Linked DNA regions of Homo sapiens: all the other regions are linked to region 1. The links are contacts of gene promoters, found by promoter capture Hi-C in blood cells and fetal thymus (Javierre and others, 2016). All regions are on one chromosome and are shown on one strand. Each heading gives the region's core, a stretch centred on a gene start or on the middle of the fragment in contact. The rest is flanking DNA. Distances are from core to core; before and after follow the strand shown. Region 1 holds the start of TMEM263-DT (TMEM263 divergent transcript). Region 2 overlaps PRDM4 (PR/SET domain 4). Region 3 has its middle 28 kb from the start of CKAP4. Region 4 has its middle 21 kb from the start of CKAP4. Region 5 has its middle 8.3 kb from the start of TCP11L2. Region 6 has its middle 12 kb from the start of CKAP4. Region 7 overlaps LOC124903008 (a long non-coding RNA gene).

Region 1 (2,700 bases), core at 159-2,658:
TTTTTTTTTCTTTAGCAGTGAGTGACGTGGCAGGAGGCAGAAAATGACCCTGGAGGCGCCGTGGCTAGCACTGAGCTTGGCACCTCCTCCCTCCGCTCCACGTTGTACACCCAGCACTCCCCCCACTCCCGAAGGGCTCCAGAATTTCTATGTAAGAAGGGTTTAGGACAGGCGATCTGATTGGAAGTGGGAGCTGGGGGGTCGGTCTTGAAGCTGCGTGTGCAGAGCAGGCAGTTTTTATTTAGACTGGGAGGCAGTGACGGCACGGATGGGTGCTCCAGCCCTCCCTGTCACCCCTGGGCGCGGCCAGCACCCTCTCCATTCCCACTTTTACTTTAGGTTAGGCGTGGAGATACAGCCTTCCTACCCAGGAAGAGCTATGGGGGTGTCCACTGGGAAAAAGTCTTGTGTGCCTGAACCCAAAAGGGAGGTTTAGCAACAGGTCAGGAGTTGGCAGGGCGAGGAAGCCCGGTACCCAAGCCCCTCCGCTGCATCCCTCTCCCAGGCTGCTGATGCCCCTCACCTTCCTCCTCCGCCCCCAACCCCGAACCCCCAGATGCTAAGAAGTCAGGCGGAGGCTTTCCAGGGGTGCGCAAGCTCCAATCGCGGCGGGGCAGTCAGCGACGTATAAGGAGGAGTAGCCCCAGAAGCGAACCTCCATCCGCCCCCAACTTCGTCCCGCCCCTCCCCCTTTCCCGCTGGGGCCTCGCCAAGGCCCCGCTGGGCAGCCAGGCCGGGCACTGGGAGGTGAGGGGCAGGGGCGCCGACGGCAGAGGGCGACGGAGGAGGGCAGGAAGCCGGGACTGCGCCCCTGCCCTCGCATCCCGACTCACTCACCGCCGGGGTCGCGGCCAGCGCTAGGGCTGGGGCCGGGCGGAGTGAGCGGGCCGGCGCAGAGGAGAGCTGAGGCGGCCTGGGCGGCAGCGGCGGCCGGCACAACCCCGGGCAGTCGCGGCTCCAGAGGCGTCCTCTCAGGATGTGGAGCTGGAAGACTGTGGCGGCGGTGGTGGAGGCGGAGGCCTCTGGCTGCGGACGTGGCGCCCGACGCGACCCGCCCCCTCCGCCGCCTCCTCAGCTCCCGCCTCCTCCCGCGGCTCCAGTTCCGACGCGCACGCGCGCTCGTGCAGCCCGGGCCCCTCCCGCGCCCACCGGGCACACGCCCACCCGTTCTCGCAGGGTCCGGCCCTCCCAGCAGTCCCCAGCCGGCTGTGTCCCAATTGCGCACGCGCGACGCTCCGAGGCCCGCTCCCGCCCCTTCGCCCCCTGGACGCCTCCGTGGGAACCCCCGGCCGGCCTGCGCGCCCCTCCTCCGGGGGTCTCCCCGCCTTCTTCCCGCCACCATCCAATCAAATCGGGCGAGGGGCGCGAAGCCCGGGAGACGCGTAGGCCGCGGCCCCCAGGCCCGGTGTTTTGACGTCGGCGGTGCCCGCGTTCCGCGCCGAGTAACGGTCTTCGGAATTCAGAGCCTTCGCCTTAGGGAAGGTGGGACGGTCGCCAGTTTCTCCAGCACTTTCTTCGTCCAGGGACGTCAACCTCCCTTGCATGCTGTCCTCAGGGACTGACAGCGGGGCCTGCTCAGAAGTTCTCGTCGGGACTCTCTACAGGCCTTTGTGATTAAGTGCTAGGGGTGAGGAGAGACGTGGCTTATTTATGTGTTTTTCAGTTTGTTATGATTTTTTTTTTTTTAATTTTACTTCTCCCTGCCCTAGAATTGAGCTCCTTGAGAGTAAAAACCCGCCTGGGTCGCCATCACCCTAGGCTTGGTGCAGGGCCTGCCAGGCGCTCGAATTTGTTGAAGAGGTGGGTGTTCAGTATCGAAAGAGCCGCGGATTGTACATTAGAAAGCCTGGCTTTGCGCCGCGTCCTTGCCACTTGCTGACCAGGCCCCTCCACGTGGTCCCCGCCGGGGCAGCAGCTCTCCTCACCCGTCCAAAGGCACGGGGAGGCGCGTGGCGGCCCCGCCAGAGCTGAGCCCCCTGGGATGTGAGGCCGTCTCGCTCTGAGCTTCAGAGCAGGGTTGCAGGAGACACCTCAGAAGGTCGTTTTGAGGACGGGAGGAGATGAACTGCTCAAAGCCTGCTTAACTAGATAAATGGTATCGATTAACTTTTCTTTGACTCCCTTTCCACACCTATAAAATGAAGATGACGGGAAACTTGTCATACTTTTTTTGTGGTGGGTGGGAAAGGTCTTTATGAACTGTGAAGTCCTATGCAAACGTGAGATGTTTCCTTTCGCAATCTGATTAGCGAAGCAAAAACACGCGAGTCAAAAACATACACAGAAAGCAAAAAAAAAAAATTCACAAAATGGTTTATCAACTGCAGAATATTCAGGATGGTGGAACTGAATGGTAACTACTGACAACATAGCTCAGAAAGGACGTGCTAAAACATGCTGGATGAAGCTAACTTTGATCCAGGTCTTAAATGGAATGGACTATAGTTTATAGCTTCAACCTAATCATTAACTTATGAAATCAGAGAATTAAGGCCACTTAAGCCACTGTGCTCAGACTGTCAAGATATTTAGTTTCTCAAAGCAGAAAGAGGAAATTAAATACTCTTGTCAATTCAACATATGGGTTGGATGATTAGCAGGATCCGTGGATTGTTGTTTATCCAGTATGTGAAGAAACGGATATCCTCTGTTTTCTCGTTATTACACAAACTTCTATCCTTAATATGTGACCTTTCAAGG
Region 2 (2,832 bases), core at 301-2,800, 800 kb before region 1:
TCTGTGATCTTTCACTTAATAGCTATGTGATTTGGGGCATATGACATGGCCTCTCTGAGCCATAGTTCCCTCATCTATCTTACGTTGCAGTATTGGTGTGAGGATTTGAAGTCATTTTAAGTGAAGTGGTAGCAAAGCTTACATAATGACCCTCAATATTTGGAGGACATTAATATACTGATACAGAATCTTAGTAAACTGTTGCTGAATGGGGAAAATACGATGCTTTTCACATCATCGATAATCTGGATCTTTAACTCCTATTAAAAATGATTAGTAAAATTTACTTGAGTAGGTTAAAATGCGCTGCCTAAAACACTACTGGTTTGAAATAATAAGCCATTTGGAGAAAAATAAATATTATAAAAGATGAAGCTTGAGTGATTTAAAAAAAAACTGTCATTGCCATTGTGCTCTAAGAATTGCAGACTTTGCTTTAGATGGTGTGCCTAGAGTTTCGAACAAGGCAGAATTCAAATCCTATTTCTGCTATGTGACATTGAATTGAGTTTTTAATGTCTCAATCTCAGTTTTCTTATCAGTAGAAAGAATATGGCACTAGCTATCTAAGAGAATTGTTGAGCGTAAAAGTGAACTAATAGTTGGCCAAGTCCCATTTCCCCATCCCCACTGTTTCAGTTTCTTCAGTATCTTAATACAGAGTCATTGGAGTAAATTTTTGCATAACTAGTTGTGTGTGCTCTTTTCTAGGATGAATGAAATGAACCTGAGTCCAGTGGGGATGGAGCAGCTGACTTCATCCTCTGTGAGCAATGCCTTGCCAGTCTCAGGAAGTCACCTGGGATTGGCTGCCTCACCCACTCACAGTGCCATCCCTGCCCCAGGTGAGTGGTAAGGGAGACCTACTGCATTTCAACACTTAACTCTGTTATCAATTCTAAATGGAGTCTAGAAGAGATCAGAGCCCCTTTAAGGGTAGAAGGTAGAAGGGAGAAGGTAAGCAGGCCTGAATGGTGGTTCAACATGTGATAGGTAATGGAAAATAAGGTTTTTGTAGAGGTAGAGTATTAGAATTCTAGTGGATAGTAGCAGCAATTTTTTCTGATAGTCCTCTTCTGAGTTGGTAGCTTTTTGTCCAGAGCTGTAATTAACTTGGCATTTTATTTAGGGCTGCCCATTCATCTGGTTCACACTTCAGTACCCGTTCCCTGGGTTAATAGAAGAGAATCAGTTAAAATTACTCTAATAACTATTCCCAGAGAGCATGGGGAATTGGGCTTTATATTCCACCAGGTTTGAAATTAAATGGCAATAACTGCAAGTGTACCAGGTCTAGAATTAATGTGGAAAGAAGTGTGGTACTTTTACCTGGGGCTTTTACATGGAACGCCTCATGAGCCTCCATACACAGCAAAATCGTATAGGAAAAATTCATTCTTCCTATCCTTTTTTTTTTGAAATGGAGTCTCACTCTGTCATCCAGGCTGGAGTGCAGGGGCACGATCTCGGCTCACTGCAACCTCCGCCTCCCGGGTTCAAGTGATTCTCCTGCTTCAGCCTCCTGAGTAGCTAGGATTATAGGCATGCACCCCTACACCTGGCTCATTTTCTTTTTTTTCTTTTTTGAGATGGAGTTTCGCTCTTGTCGACCAAGGTGGAGTGCAATGGCACGATCTCGGCTCACTGCAACCTCCGCCCGCCTCCCGGGTTCAAGCAATTCTCCTGCCTCAGCATCCCGAGTAGCTGAGACTACAGGCACACGCCACCATGCTCAACTAATTTTTTGTATTTTTAGTAGAAACGGGGTTTCACCATATTAGCCAGGCTGGTCTCGAACTCCTGCCCTCAGGTGATCCGCCCTCCTCGGCCTCCCAGAGTGCTGGGATTTTAGGTGTGAGCCACCGCGCCAGCCGTCACTGTACTTTTAAAACCTTTTTTCTGCCTAGCTTCATTTTCTTATTCTATTGAAATAGAATATAAATGGAATAAATATTCTATTGATTATTACAATGATAAGCTGTCAGTTCTTTAGGATCAATGACATTGTTATGTATTGGACTTTCTTTGTCACAGTAGGAGTTAGTATAAATAAATCTATATATTGTTTAAATAGTTCTCTAAAGAGAATTACTTGCTTAATTAATAAAATGCAGCAGTTAAATAAGATTCATTGAAACTAGGGTCTCTTCACATTTGTTTAAGTGTCCACAAAAGAAATCTTAAAAAATTATTAGTGGTTAACCCACTTGATTGTTTGTAGGCATTCCCTTTAGTGGACACTCTTGTTAAGGTGGAAAAGCCTGTTAAAAAATATTGCCAGCCAGGCACAGTGGCTCACGCCTATAATCCCAGCATTTTGAGAGGCCAAGGCAGGAGGATCACTTGAGCCCAGGAGTTCAAGATCAGCCTAGGTAACATAAGGAGACCCCATCTCTACAAAGAAAAAAAAAAAAATTAGCAGCGCATGGTGGCACACACCCGTAGTCCCAGCTACGTAGGAGCTACATAGGAGGCTGAGAAGGGATGGCCACTTGAGCCAGGAAAGCTCAGGTTGCCTGAGCCATGGTCATGCTACTACGCTCCAACCTGGGCAACATAGCAAAACCTTGTCTCAAAAAAAAAAAATATTGCCCCTGGCAAAAATATGCAAATCAGCACTGACCAAGTTGGTGGGTATTTATTATGATACTTAGCCCAGTAAAAGTCACTTCACTTTGCAAGTACATATAACTCAAAGTAGATATAATCTCACGTTTAAAGCTTTTATTAATCACTAAGTGTAGCATATATACAAAAGATTGTATGAAGGTGTACATGTACAGTTTTACATCTAACTAAACTACGTTGTTTTCCAGGTAGAAATGAAATATT
Region 3 (2,872 bases), core at 10-2,509, 740 kb after region 1:
AGAAAGATAATAAAACTATACTTGAGTCTCCAAAAAAAAAAGAATTATTTACACTGAAACTGAAGAAACTGAGCATTCAGGGTTGAGGTGGCAAATGTTCAGGAGTGTTTTGTGTTGATTGCAACAAAAACCCATGAGTGGTACAAACTTATTACATTCACTGTGCTCCAAATGAGCTCATTGACCACTCCTCTGAAACCTCCTCCTTCTCCATTGAACCATATCGGAGTAAATGGCTTTTCCATCTATCTAATTTCTCATGTCAGAAGCATGAGTCCTTGTGCCTCCCTCTCCCTTAGTGTCCACAGCTGGTCATCGTATTGATGCATCTCTATAAATATCTCCCGGGAACTTTTCCTGATTTCCACTGCCATGACTCTTGTCCAAACCATCATTCTGTCTTTCCCAGACTCTCGTAATTGCCTCTTAACCAGTGTCTGTGCTTCTCCCAGTCCACCCGTCACACAGAAGCCGGAGTGATGTTTCAACAGGACAAATTTACTTACGGTCATTTGCCACTTAATGACATTTCAGTCTGTGATGAACTGCATATACGATGTTGATCCTGCAGGATTATAATACCATATTTTTACTGTCCCTTTTCTATGTTTACATATGTTGATACAGAAATACTTCCCATTCTGTTACAATTGCCTACAGTATTCAGGACAGTCCCATGCTGTATAGGTTGCAGTCTAGGAGCAATGGGCCATAACATATAGCCTGGGTGTGTAGTAGGCTATGCTGTCTAGGTTTGTGTATGAACTCTGTGATATTCTCACAATGACAAAATCACCTAACCACACATCACATTTCTCAGGATTTGTCTCCATTGTTAAGTGATACACGACTGTGTATCATTCCTTTGTTTACAGTCTGGCTTGTGTTGCTCTGACGGTAAAGTTAAAAATCACATTGCAGTCCCTCAGTTTTCACTAGAAGCACTTTCAGTTCCCCACCAATGCAAAACTGCTTACCACCTTGGCATCTTGGCACAACCTAGTCCCTCTGCCTAGAATGCCCTTCCTATTACCCACCTTCACTTGGCTAACACCAGGTCATCTTTTTGATCTCAGCTGAAATGCTGCATGTGAATAAGGCTTCCTTGCCTCTCCAGGCTAAGTCAGGTTTTTCTAATACGTGGCCTGCTGGCATTCTGGATTTCTCTATCTCAGCTCTCATCAAAATTGCAATTAATTATTACTATATTTCCTTGACTTTCTGATATGTGTATATGTTTCTAAACACCTAACATCTCTGAAGTTGGGATGCATCTTATAATTGAAGGCATCTCAGAAGTATCATTGGTAGTGTTTTTTTTAGTGGCATATAAACTAATGGTGCAATTTATGAGCAATGGCATCTTAGATTTGATGAACTGTGGTAATTATATAGTTACGTGTTTGCCTAGTTCATCTACTAGGCTGTAAGTTGTGTCTGTCTTGATGAGAGCTCTATCCCCAGCACTACTATAGTGCCTTGCACATAGCAAGCACCCAGTAAAGATTTGTGTGTGTATATATACATATATATACATTATATATATGTAACACAGACGAGTGTATGCCAGAAAATTCCCTAAGAAAATAAATGAAAAACTCATATTTTGACTTCTACTTCTGGCCAAGGTGGAATAACAGCAGGGGATTTACCCACTCTTCTGAAAAAAGTAAGAAATTGGATCAAATATATGAAACAATGATTCTCAAGATACTGATCACTAGGCAATGAAGGACAGCGATCTTTGAGAGAAGAGAAGCAAATGAAATGAGTGCTATAGCTGCCCTAGCTTGTTGCCTGGAGAGGAATATGTTGCCCAACTGAGGAGAGTTGGGCAACCCAGGCTGTGGTGCAGGGAGGGAGATCCCAGGTGGATTCTGGCAGTCTCCCTGAGTTGAAGAGGCAAAGCCAGGAGCCTGGTGAGGCCAACATGGCTAGAGGTTACAGGACAGAGAACTGCAGAGGAGATAGAACTCTGAGATCTGCAGATGGTCTCCCTCCAATCTTCAATAGAGTACCCATCAGCACATGTGTTTTAGAAAACTATCCAAGGCTGGAGAAAGAATGACTTAAAAGGATGAGAGTCTGGGCGCAGTGGCTCACGCCTGTAATCCCAGCACTTTGGGAGGCTGAGGTGGGCAGATCACTTGAAGTGAGGAGTTCAAGACCAGCCTGGCCAACATGGTGAGACCCTGTCTCTACTAAAAATACAAAAATTAGCCAGGCATGATGGCATGCACCTGTAATCCCAGCTACTCGAGAGGCTGAGGCAAGAGAATCACCTGAATGCGGGAGGCAGAGGTTGCAGTGAGCCAAGATCGCACTGCTGCACTCCAGCCTGGGTGATAGAGTGAAACTCTATCTCAAAAACAAACAAACAAACAAACAAAGAACGAAAGGCCATAATTCTCAGAGCTCACATAGGGTTAGGATTCTGTTCCCACCAGTAAAAGTGAAAACCTCAAAACCTCATACTTCACAGTACATTAGGCAGAGGACTCAGATGTAGGGAAAATTAGCCTCAAACAAAACTGCTCTGGTCCTGCTCAATAAAGTTTAACAGCAAGACTTGAAAACATCATACTGTCTCCGGGTAACTTCACACTGTCCAAGAACAAAGTTCGAGAATATTTATAATAATACAAAAACTGTACAAAATTTTACCCAAAAAGGTAAATTTCACAATGTTAGGCTGATGCAAAACATCAGCAAAATGCAACCCATAATGAAGAGAAAATTCAATCAATTAGAACTGACCTAGGAGTGACACAGATGTTAAGAGCTATAGGCAAGGATGTTAAAATAATTATTATAAATGTATTCCATGTGTTCTAGAAGCTAGAGGAAATATTGAACATGGTAAGTAGAGATA
Region 4 (2,951 bases), core at 224-2,723, 690 kb after region 1:
GTGTGTGTGTGTGTGTGTGTGTGTGTGTGTGTGTGTGTGTGATGGAATTTTGCTCTTGTGGCCCACGCTGGAGTGGAATGGCATGATCTCAGCTCACTGCAACCTCAGCCTCCTGGGTTCAAGTGATTCTCCAGCCTCAGCCTCCCCAGTAGCTGGGATTACAGGCTCCCACCACCACGCCTGGCTAATTTTTTGTAGTTTTAGTAGAGACGGGGTTTCACCATGTTGGCCAGGCTTGTCTCGAACTCCTGACCTCAGGTCATCCACTCGCCTCAGCCTCCCAAAGTGCTGGGATTACAGGCATGAGCCACCATGCCCTGCCGATGGCACTTTTTTCACTTGAAGAAAGAACGAGGAGACCTAGGCTTATTGAATCAAGAGGGTCTTAAGTTAGATAGTAATACTGACTTCCTCACTGTGAGAAAAGTACAGGATTATGTTACCTCACCAAGGAGTTTCCTTTCTAAGAGACTTGAAATCTCCTAGCTGGCAGAGGCTCAGAAGGAAGTTCCTTAGTGACTCTCAATCTCTTTCATGTACAGCAGGTCTTGAATAACGTCTTTTCATTCAATGTAGTATTGTTATAAAGTTGGTGAGAAAAAAAACAGTGGATTCCCAGCCGGGTCACTGTTTGTATGGAGTTTGCAGGCTCTCTCCATGTCTGCGTGGGTTTTCTCCAGGTACTTTGGTTTCCTCCCGAAGATGTGCAAGTCAGTTTCACTGGCATGTCTCAATGGTCCCAGTAAGAGTGAGTGTGGGCATCGGTGTGGGTGTGAGTGTGCCCTGTGATGGAACAGCATCCTGTCCAGGGTGGTTTCCAGTCTTGTGCCCTGAGCTGCTGGGAGAGGCTTCTGCCACCTACAACCTTGAACTGGAATAATTGGGTAAATAATTATCTTTCTTGTTTTTATTAATCTTTCTTAAATGTATGTGTAGCTCACAGGTATTTTAGTGTTTACTATGAGAAGTGTTTTGGTCTTTAGAAGTTTGGTGACACTTTTTTTTTTTTTTTTTGAGACCGAGTCTTGCTCTGTCACCCAGGCTGGAGTGCAGTGGCATGATCTCGGCTCACTGCAACCTCTGCCTCCCTGGTTCAAGCAATTCTCCTACCTTAGCTTCCCAAGTAGCGGGAACTACAGGCGTGTGCTAACACATCCAGCTAATTTTTGTATTTTCAGTAGAGATGGGGCTTCATGATGTTGGCTGGGCTGGTCTCAAACTCCTGACCTCAGGTAATCTGCCCGCCTTGGCCTCCCAAATTGCTGGGATTACAGGCTCAGATAAGCCACCACGCCTGGCCTGTTTGGTGATACTTTTGTGGCCAGAAATAGGGTGTAGAAACTTAAGTCGTGTTTATATCAATTAGCCTATGGTCAAATTGGTTTTGTTATATGTCATTTTGCTTAAAGTTGCAATTTCCAAGAACCTATGAACAGTGATAAGTGAGGACTTAAGCATACTAGATAAGTCTACTGAGTTATTGCAGTGTCACTGTGGTTGAAAGTTTCCTGGTGAGCTCTGGTTCCCTCGCTGTCAACTACCCCTCTTTTTGGCAGAATCCCTTCAGAGGTGAATCTGCATTTTAAACAGCAAGCTCCTCATTCTGGCTGCTGGGTCCTGCGTGATACTCCAAAGCCATGGAGATGCTGGGCCTGGTGCACTTGCCCTTCCCTCAAGGGATCCTGCTGGTCATGGACCTATACAATGAAGGGATCCAGGGGACTGATTGGAAGTCAGAATCCAAACACTAGACTCTCTATCATTTTGAAGGTAGAGGAATTAAACCAAAGAAATATACTACTGCATTTATATACAATTCTGGTATCACTTTAAGACCTGATGATTTTTTAGAGCAAAAAGTCCAATGTAAAGAAATAGTTTCCAATGCGGCTAAACCTCAAAGGATAACCAAGTGTTAATGGTTAGGGACACCAGCCTACACAGGGCAATGAGATTCAGTTTACTAAGCAGCTTCTGGGCTCTTACTAGGTGGCAGGTCTTGTGCTGGGTACTGGGTGATGGTGGTGGTGATGGGAGAGATACAGAGATAATAGTGATAATGACATTGATAATAACATCACATGTCCTGAGAGCTGATTACTTGCCGGGCATTGTGCTAATTTATTTGTTAATTTAATAAATAAACAGGGCAACATAAATACTTGCTGAATGAATTGTTTACTTGCACAAGCTCTCCTGGCCTCCTTTCTGTTTCTTGGATGCACCTCAGGGCCTTTGCATTTGCTCTTTTGTTCTGCCTGGAAAGCTCTTCTTCCATGTATTTGGTTGGCTGGCTCCTCACTCCTTCAGGTCTTTCCTCCAATGTCACCTTCTCAGTGAAGTCCTGACCACTTAATCTAAAATTATAACCCCTATCCCGATTCCAAACCCTTTCTGTTCCTATTTCTCCATTTCACTTTTTCCTCTTAGCACTTAGTACTACTGTATCTAGGATGCTGCCTTTAACTTTTTTTTTTTTTTTTTTGAGATGGATGGAATCTCACTCTGTTGCCTAGGCTGGAGTGCAGTGCCATGATCTCCAGAGTGCAGTGGCACAATCTTGGCTCACTGTAACCTCTGCCTCCTGGGTTCAAGCGATTCTCCTACCTCAGCCTCCCTAGTAGAGTAGCTGGGACTGCAGGTGCATGCTACCACACCTGGCTAATTTTAGTATTTTTAGTAGAGATAGGGTTTTCACCATGTTGCCCAGGCTGGCCTCGAACTCCTGCCCTCAGGTGATCCACCCCCGTCAGCTTCCCAAAGTGCTGGGATTACAGGCGTGAGCCACCACGCCCGGCCATGCTGACTTTTACTAATGTACTATTGTCTGTCTCTCTTGCTAGCCTGAGAGCTCCACGATGGTAGGGACTTTGGACTGCGTTGTTCACTTCTGTAGCCCCTTGGCCTAGGTCTGATGCTCAAATTTGCTCCATGAATTGAATAAAAGATAT
Region 5 (2,701 bases), core at 12-2,511, 660 kb after region 1:
AGTGAAACTCAGTCTAAAAAAAAAAAAATGCTCGGTGTAACATAATTATACAAATAAATTTAATTTTAATGCTGAAGCTGAATTCTTTATTTAAAGGAAGACCTCTGTGATGATATGTGGACGTTTAAAAAAATGACTTTTTAAAAGTTACAAGCATTACGTAGATCAAAATTTTCAAAGAATTAATCAACTGAGGTACAAAATAATTGTATATAATGAGGAAATGTGGTATGGTGGAAAGAGGGTGGGCTTTGGGTTCAGACAGACCAGAGGGTTGACAGCCAAGTTCCACCACTCATTATACATATGTCCTTATCCTCACAGGTATAAAATGGGGATAATAATGTTGTGGGGGCCATTTGTCATTTTGGTGATCCAGCTTTCCGAATGGTATTTGAATTGTTATCATTTATTATAGAAGCCAGAGAGGGGATGATATGCTAATCCCATTAATACTTTACTACTGGAGCTGGAAAGGCATTCTGTCTTCCCAGACCCTGGTGGCTGTAGCATGGGCATGGGACCTACGCATGTTCTGTCAGATGCTGACCACCACAGGTAGATAGGGGTGATTCACAGAGCTACAGTGGTGGTGCCCAATGCTGATGACACCAGCTATGGCATCCTTAGCATGTTCTTAGCTATGCCTGGCTTCCTTTAGTTCTTTCCCAAGCTTGGTTCTTCAGTCTAAAATATGTTAGAGTCACTCGATAGCTAATTCCATGAGCTACCAAGACCCTCTGGTCTCAGTTCCATGAGCTACGAAGACCCTTCTGGTCTAGTCAGACTAAGGTGTATTATTTGCCACTAAGAACTTTGACTAGAACAAATACTCCATAACCTGTGGGAGAATTAAAAGAAATAATGTATATGAAGAGTTGAGCAGAGTGCCAGCGACATTGTATGGATCAGTAAACTGTAACTACTATTATTATACTCTTGTTATTTTAATGATTTAATATTTACAGTTTCGACAGGTCCTGGGCAACTTAAAGGTCTGTGACATGCGATAATTTAAAATTCTGCCAAGGAGCAAATTTGAATCTAATAAGTTGGTGGTACAGGAGCCATTTATTTACCTCACAAATGAGCCTAACACATCACCCAGTATTTATATATCAATGTGAGGATTACTATTCTCCACTCATTAGGCCAGTAAGTCAGATCCATTCAGGAAAATAATATAACTTTATATTGTGTTAAGAACAATGATCCAAAAACTTGGATAATTATCCAAACGTTATCCAAAGACTTGGAAATAGGCAAAAGGGATTACTGGATGTCCTTTTAGTAGGGTGCTGTGTAGTGCAGTGTAGTAGCAGACTCGTACAAGGATTCATGCATTATCTAGGACTGTGTACCTTTGTTGGACTTACTACTCGTTATTGGTTCAGATATTCCAGAACTTTGTAAAGGCAGATGTTACTTTATCAAAAACTGATAACAAGGGCCCAGTGTAGTGGCTCACGCCTGTCATCCCAACACTTTGGGAGGCCAAGATGGACAGGTTGCTTGAGGCTAGGAGTTGGCGACCAGCCTGGGCGACATAGAGAGATCCTGTATCTACAAAAAAAATACAAAACTTAGCTGGGCAGGGTGGCATGTGGCTGTAGTCCCAGCTAATCAGGAAGCTAAAGTGGGAGAGTCCCTTGAGCCCAGGAGTTCGAGGCTACAGTGAGCTATCATCATGGCACCTCAGTTTAGCCTGGGTGACAGAGACCCTATGTCAAAAAACCGAAAACCAAAACCCAAAACAAAACACCAAAAAATTGATAACAATGCAAATTATTCTTGTCCATTTCTAATACAAGTAAAATCTTTTCTGTTCTATAGAAAAGATAAAAGCTTACTATTTATTACCTTATAAGACATTAACCAATTTTGTGTCTAACCTAGTAATCTTATTGTAAGATTTTTAAAAATGCATTTCTTGATGGGATATATAAACCCCTATTTCTCAAATATTCCTTAAACCAACTTTACCATTTTACTGGCTAACTCTTTAATTGATGAAATAAATATTTTTTTAAGCCCGTGTTTGTTCTGTTTCATATAAGTCATGTTTTCAATTTGTTGAAAATTATACCTTGACAAATAGAAGTCAATCCAAGGGGCCACATAGAAGGAGCATGTAATCCAGAACTGACGACCCCCAGGTAGGCTTCCTAGAGAAAGGAGTAGCCAAGCAGATACATGTACAAGAAGTTCTCAAGTGATCTCAACAAAACAGATTCAGGCCCCTAAATCAGTATTTAGGTCAAATTCATTGTTGAAAAATAAGGCTGATATGAGCTTAACTGATAAGGAAGAAAATTGGAACTACTTAGCTAAAAATCTGGATTGGTTTAAACTGCTTCAGTGTTGCTTTTATAATTTTCAAAAACGGCAGCTCACTTTGGAACCACAGGTACCTGCGAACTGTGGGAAATTCACCATTCTTGCCAAATGAGGTGAGGAACTCAATTCACTTTCTAAATCTACATAGATGGTTCTGCGCCATTTCTTCAGGAGTCCAAAGCTGAACCATAAGCTTGATGTAGAGGGCATTGCAATGAGTGGCTTTCAGCCCACAGGTGGACTTTGAATTTGAATGCCACAAGCCCACCCCTCTTATATGTAGCCTACTTCATTCATTTACATGGTTCACCTAGCTCTTTAAGCATTTTTGCCATCTCCATGAAGAAAAGTAGGGCCCCAAGCA
Region 6 (2,700 bases), core at 16-2,515, 720 kb after region 1:
ATAAAGAGGCTGGCACTGTTTTTTTTTTTTTTTTTTTTGAGACAGAGTCTCGCTCTGTCACCCAGGCTGGAGTGCAGTAGCAGGATCTTGGCTCACTGCAAGCTCCGCCTCCCGGGTTCTGGCCATTCTCTTGCCTCAGCCTCCTGGGTAGCTGGGACTACAGGCGCTTGCCACCACGCCCGGCTAATTTTTTGTATTTTTAGTAGAGACAGGGTTTCACCGTATTAGCCAGGATGGTCTCAATCTCCTGACCTCGTGATCTGCCCGCCTCGACCTCCCAAAGTGCTGGGATTACAGGTGTGAGCCGCCATGCCTGGCCAGCACTGGTATTTTAAAGGCTCCCTCTCTGATTTTAATGTCCAGTCAGGGTTGAGAACCAGTGTCTCAGACCATCTGAGTGACCTTCAGCCCTAGTGCACACCTGGGCTTGTTTCCTTCTCTGGATTGCCTTCCACCCTCCACCCAATAAAAACCACATGCTGTTTATTGAGTACCTGTGTGCCAGGTCTTGTGCTCAGCATGCATAATAACCTGTTATTCCTTCTTACAGTCCCCCGAGGTAGGCAGTATCATTTCCCATTTCACAGAGGAACAGCAGGCTGAGAAGCTTCATACAAGGTCATTCATTACGAAGTGGCAGGGCTAAGCTTTGGACCTCATCCTTGCTCTAACTGGGACAGCATCCTCTACCGTCCACTGACACCAGTGCAGGTCCATTTGGCCTGTGGAATATCTGTCCTGTTCCAGAGCCCAAGGCTGCAAGAGATTTCTTCTTTCCCACCTAGGGAGTAGAGGGTGGCTAGGACCTGAGGTCCTGTGGCTTGATGTCCCCCTTTCTGGCTGAAAGGCCCCTCATCTCTGAATTGCTGTCAGTCACTCTGGGTCCCTCAAAGCTTCACAACTCAGAGCTGGAAGTTTTTTCCAAAGCAGTTAGCAAATCAGGACAGGCTCTGTAAATAATTTCTATTTTTATTTCAAAACCATTTTACTTTTTATTTTAAAGTCTTAAGTATTGACATGTATGCTTTAAATGGCTACTTTCACCCACTTGGGGAGGGTGCGGAACAGCATAAAGTCGCAGGCATGGAAAAAATTAAATTCATTTCCTTTTCAGGCCAATTGGTTGCATTGAGTATGTTCTTGCTGTTTCTCCTGTCATTTCTGCAGTTGCTCATCTCTGACTATGGAGTGGTTTAATAGATTCTCATTAATATTATAAAAGAAAATATTGACAAGTGTCTGATAAATATAAATTCAAGTGGTGAAAATAAAAGGAATATATTAGGAATTCACATATTTCTGATGGTGGGGCAGTTAGAGTTCTTACACCAAATAATGCAGCTCAGTCTTGTTTCTTCATTCAATATAGTGTTCATTCATTCAATAAACATTTATTGGGCTGATAGCCAGCCATTTTGCTAAGTATCAGTGAATTAAAATGTACAGGACTAGCCCAGTGGGAATGACAGTCATGTAAAGTGGTAGGTATTAGAAATACAGGTGCCATACTTGGGTGTATTGGGCCAAGAGGAAGGAGTGACCATTGTGCCATGGTTGGTCTAGAGGTGGTTAGAACAGGTTTTTGAAGGGCTGGGGGAAGTCCCTTGGAATGCTTTCATGAGTAATGGGAAGCTTCGGGAAACAGGTTGTTTTGCCCTTTGAACAAACAATATACACAAATTACTGAACATGTTGGTTAAATTGCAGATCCAGCACCAGGATAAGAGGCTGCAGTGAAACTTCTCAGGCAGGACTGACAGCACCCTGGTGAGGAGACTACTACACCACTGACCATGTGGCCTTGGGCAAGTCACTTAGAATGGTGATGGTGTTGATAATAGAGATGATGGTGGAGATGGAGATGATGATGGTGGTGATGAAGATGATGTGATGGTACAGGGTGGTTGTCAGGACTGAATGAGCGTGTTGAGGGGTTAGCACAGAATCTGGCACATCATAAGTGCTTCAGTGATCATGCGTGCATGGATCATACCAGAGGTTAAAATGTTGAAATACTGTTGTCCTAGTTGGTGAATAGCTTCTGCCCTGAACCCCCTGCATGTCCTCTCTCTGGACCACTATACCTCTTTACAATCCAGCAACTAATAGGTTAATATTCTAGTATAGCAGAGACCACAAGACTCTGCTCCAGCCCCAGGGCCTGCATTTGTTCTGATGGGTGGGTGCCCATCAGATTAAATATTTTGAAGTTATCCTTCCTTGTGAGCTCAATAATTTGTGTGTGGGTAAGATTTGTTTCAAAGAAGTGACTATATAATGAGGTGGTAAAACTTGAACCCAGTTCTAAAAGATAGGTAGGGTTGTCAGGTACCAGGCAAAAGGTACTGGGTTTGAAGTAGTCAGGAGAGTTGAGAGGCTGAGCACAGTTCTTGCAGTTGGAATAGAGAAAGCACAGGTGGGGAGTCGGGTGGAGATGGGGTAGGAGGGCTAATGGGGCCAGGACCTGGAGGCCTTGCATGTCATCCCTGAGAGTTTGGATCTGAACTATGAGGAATAAACAAAAGGGTTTAAGTGGGGCAGGGGAAGTAACCATGGTCAGAACTGGGTTCTAGAGTGCCCCCGCATTGGCAGGATTGGAGGAGAGCAAGGGGAGGGCAGGTGGACATTGGGAAGTCGTGGTCCAGGCTGGGTCCGATGTGCCCTGAGGATGAGGGTTGTAGATGGATGTCAGAGATGTGC
Region 7 (2,700 bases), core at 191-2,690, 700 kb after region 1:
TCAAGGTCACGTAAGTGGCAAGAACCAAGATTTGAACTAGCTCTCCCTGATTCTACAGAATATAACCCTATAACAAAGCCAAGTTCACAGAAACTCTGGTCTTGGCTTCCTTAGACCCAGGTTCCAACCAACCTCTCAGCTGCAAGGGCTTTACCATTGACCATCAAGGGTTATACTGATGGCTCCCACTCAAACTAAACAAGGTCCCTCTTTTCTACAGGAGTGAAACTTGTGCACAGGAAGGCTTCCCTTCCTCCAGAGAGAACACTGGAGGCCACTCACCTTCCAGACCACCAAATTTAACATCACTCATGCCAGCTGGAGGAGGCCCCAGATCCCTCTGGCCAGTGAAGTTTTGGTTGGTGAGTGAAATTCGAACTCATTAACTTGAAAATGAATGAGCTTCAGTGACTGTTAAGGCACCTCGGACTGAGATGTCTGATTTCCATTCCAACTCTGGGTGCGAAGCTTTCTCCATCCTTAGCCACCCAGTGATCACTATTTACCCATTTCAGCACTGGCTGGGCCTGCTAGGATTGTAAGCAGCTAAATGGTGCCTAACAGCACGGGCTCTGGTCAGTCCACCTGGGTTCAAATCCTGGTTCTATCACTTAATAGCTGCAGGAACTAGGACAGGTTTCTTAACTGTTCTATGCTTCTCTTCTGTTTTATCATCTGTAAAACGTGGAGAAGAGTAAGTCCTTCATAGGGTTGTTGTGAAGTTTAAAAGATATAATGGGTGCACCACAATCTCAGAAATCACCACTAAAGAACTTAGTGATAACCAAACACCACCTGTTACCCAAAAACCTATGGAAATAAAAAATAAAAAATATATGCAGAGTGCTTAGTACAATGACCACACATAAGCAAGACCCAACAAAAGTTTGCTATTAATTTTAATATTATTTTATTAGGCTTTTATTTTGTGCCGGGAGCAGTTGCTCACGCCTGTAATGCCAGCACTTTGGAAGGCTGATGCAGGAGGATCACATGAGGCCAGGAGTTCAAGACCAGCCTGGCTAACATGGTGTAACCCCATCTCTATTAAAAATACAAAAAATTGAGCCGGGTGTGGTGGCACAGGCCTGTAATCTCAGCTACTCAGGAGGCTGAGGCAGGAGAATCACTTGAACCCAGAAGGCAGAGGTTGCAGTGAGCTGAGATCGTGCCATTGCACTCCAGCCTGGGTGACAGAGCGAGACCCTGTCTCCAAAAAGAAAACAAAAAACAAAAAACCCCAAAAAGACTTTATTTTGTGCTCATTGTAGTGGTCATCATTCTTGTCGAGACTTCACTGCTTTGTGTATAGCATCAAACTGTGCCCCACAGAAAGGGATACAAGTAAATAATTGTTTAGCACCCTGTAGTTTACAAAATATTTTCATGGGCATTATCAACTGATACCACCTGAGGATATGGATGTGTTAGCCAAAATTTAAAGGAGGGTGTAGCGTTAGCTCATATCATACAGTCAATTTAATGAAGTGGCATCAAAATGTAAAACCATTTCATGTTCACAATATGAACAGTAGGCCTTCCTTATCCCGTCCCCCATGCCATCTCTGGGTCTTACCCATCCCTCAAGTTCACATTAGAAGGGCAGGGATGCTACTGAGCACTTATCTTAGGACTGCAAAAACAAGTAGAAATGTGTTTATGCATTCATTTATTGATTGCGACAGAGCAAGACCATCCCTACTATCACCATTGTCATCATCACCATCACCATTTCTATCATAATCACCACCATCATCCTCCTCCTCCTCATCATGTCCAGTGTAAGCTGGAGTGTAGTGGCGTGATCTCGGCTTACTGCAACCTCCGCCTCCTGGATTCAAGCGATTCTCCTGCTTCTGCCTCCCGAGTAGCTGGAATTACAGGTGTGTGCCACCACACCCAGCTAATGTTTTGTATTTTTAGTAGAGGCGGGGTTTCTCCATGTTGGCCAGGCTGATCTCGAACTCCTGACCTCAGGTGATCCACCTCTCTCAGCGTCCCGAAGTGCTGGAATTACAGGTGTGAGCCACTGTGCTTGGTCTATTTTTAAAGTAGTATCAAAATGTGCCCACATGAAAATGTCACATACTCATTCCTCAACCAAGAGGTGCCCCAGCTGGGCCCTTCCTCTTCTGCATGGACTTACAATATCTGGAGGTAGGCAGCTCCTGAGGATGTGCACCCCTGAGGCTGGGAAAGGTGGTCCTAGCTCTCCAGAGTCAAACTATAAAGAATGGCCCCCATCCCTAACACGTACTCAATTTGCAGGGCATCCAGGCTCATGCCTTGGCCACTGGGGGCCTTGCCAACCTGGAACAGACAAGAGGCAATCAACATTAACAGAGGCTTTCTATTTAGGCATTCTAACCAACATGCAAAAAGCCAAGAGGGCTGCAGGCTTACAAAGCTTGACCTTATAATTTATGGTGCATGTGGTATGAGGGAGTTCTGAGGCATTTTTACACAAGCTGGATGAAAGGATGAGATGTCTCCAGCTCCCCCTCTTCTCCGCCCACATTCCTGACCATCCAACACACTTTAGCAAGGAAAAGGGATAGAGGAAACAAAACTAGGAGGAAAAGCAGAAGAGAAACTCCTCTAGATTCATGCTGTGCTCAGAAACTGGGGTAGGAGAATGGAAGTCTCCAGGAAGAGCTGTTGATCCCTTCCTGCTCTGGAAGATGCACTTCTATGACTGCC

Evidence for each region. The method cuts DNA at HindIII sites, captures the fragments that hold promoters and counts their contacts. A CHiCAGO score of 5 or more calls a contact.
Region 2: a fragment that was not itself captured here is called in contact with the fragment with the promoter of TMEM263-DT in region 1 in 3 of 17 cell types (activated CD4 T cells, naive CD4 T cells and total CD8 T cells); the score reaches 6.0 in activated CD4 T cells.
Region 3: a contact is called between a fragment that was not itself captured here and the fragment with the promoter of TMEM263-DT in region 1, in 5 of 17 cell types (activated CD4 T cells, naive B cells, naive CD8 T cells and 2 more). The highest score is 6.5, in activated CD4 T cells.
Region 4: a contact is called between a fragment that was not itself captured here and the fragment with the promoter of TMEM263-DT in region 1, in 1 of 17 cell types (naive CD8 T cells). The highest score is 5.1, in naive CD8 T cells.
Region 5: a contact is called between a fragment that was not itself captured here and the fragment with the promoter of TMEM263-DT in region 1, in 11 of 17 cell types (fetal thymus, total CD8 T cells, naive B cells and 8 more). The highest score is 13.0, in fetal thymus.
Region 6: a fragment that was not itself captured here is called in contact with the fragment with the promoter of TMEM263-DT in region 1 in 9 of 17 cell types (non-activated CD4 T cells, naive CD8 T cells, naive B cells and 6 more); the score reaches 12.5 in non-activated CD4 T cells.
Region 7: a contact is called between a fragment that was not itself captured here and the fragment with the promoter of TMEM263-DT in region 1, in 10 of 17 cell types (non-activated CD4 T cells, total CD8 T cells, activated CD4 T cells and 7 more). The highest score is 9.6, in non-activated CD4 T cells.

Annotation. Positions count from the first base shown.
Region 1 is chr12:106,954,203-106,956,902 of GRCh38, reverse strand. It overlaps TMEM263-DT (TMEM263 divergent transcript), which reads left to right and starts at 1,408. Exons shown (of 1, transcript NR_185933.1): 1 at 1,408-2,700. It overlaps TMEM263 (transmembrane protein 263), which reads right to left and starts at 996. Exons shown (of 4, transcript NM_152261.4): 1 at 838-996. RefSeq lists enhancers at 49-108, 1,038-1,332 and a silencer at 609-1,368. The HindIII fragment of the contact is 6,686 bases long and covers 1-2,700 here.
Region 2 is chr12:107,754,845-107,757,676 of GRCh38, reverse strand. It overlaps PRDM4 (PR/SET domain 4), which reads left to right. Exons shown (of 12, transcript NM_012406.4): 3 at 712-845. All of the region lies in intron 3 of PRDM4-AS1 (PRDM4 antisense RNA 1), which reads right to left. Among named protein-coding and RNA genes, the nearest start is that of PRDM4, 4.9 kb to the left of the region's middle. The HindIII fragment of the contact is 2,346 bases long and covers 378-2,723 here.
Region 3 is chr12:106,218,209-106,221,080 of GRCh38, reverse strand. No RefSeq gene overlaps it. Among named protein-coding and RNA genes, the nearest start is that of CKAP4, 28 kb to the left of the region's middle. The HindIII fragment of the contact is 8,757 bases long and covers 1-2,872 here.
Region 4 is chr12:106,267,899-106,270,849 of GRCh38, reverse strand. No RefSeq gene overlaps it. Among named protein-coding and RNA genes, the nearest start is that of CKAP4, 21 kb to the right of the region's middle. The HindIII fragment of the contact is 4,949 bases long and covers 1-2,951 here.
Region 5 is chr12:106,293,070-106,295,770 of GRCh38, reverse strand. No RefSeq gene overlaps it. Among named protein-coding and RNA genes, the nearest start is that of TCP11L2, 8.3 kb to the left of the region's middle. The HindIII fragment of the contact is 1,172 bases long and covers 676-1,847 here.
Region 6 is chr12:106,234,865-106,237,564 of GRCh38, reverse strand. No RefSeq gene overlaps it. Among named protein-coding and RNA genes, the nearest start is that of CKAP4, 12 kb to the left of the region's middle. The HindIII fragment of the contact is 739 bases long and covers 896-1,634 here.
Region 7 is chr12:106,251,740-106,254,439 of GRCh38, reverse strand. LOC124903008 (a long non-coding RNA gene) reads right to left here. Exons shown (of 2, transcript XR_007063443.1): 2 at 1,653-2,700. Among named protein-coding and RNA genes, the nearest start is that of CKAP4, 5.1 kb to the right of the region's middle. The HindIII fragment of the contact is 1,939 bases long and covers 471-2,409 here.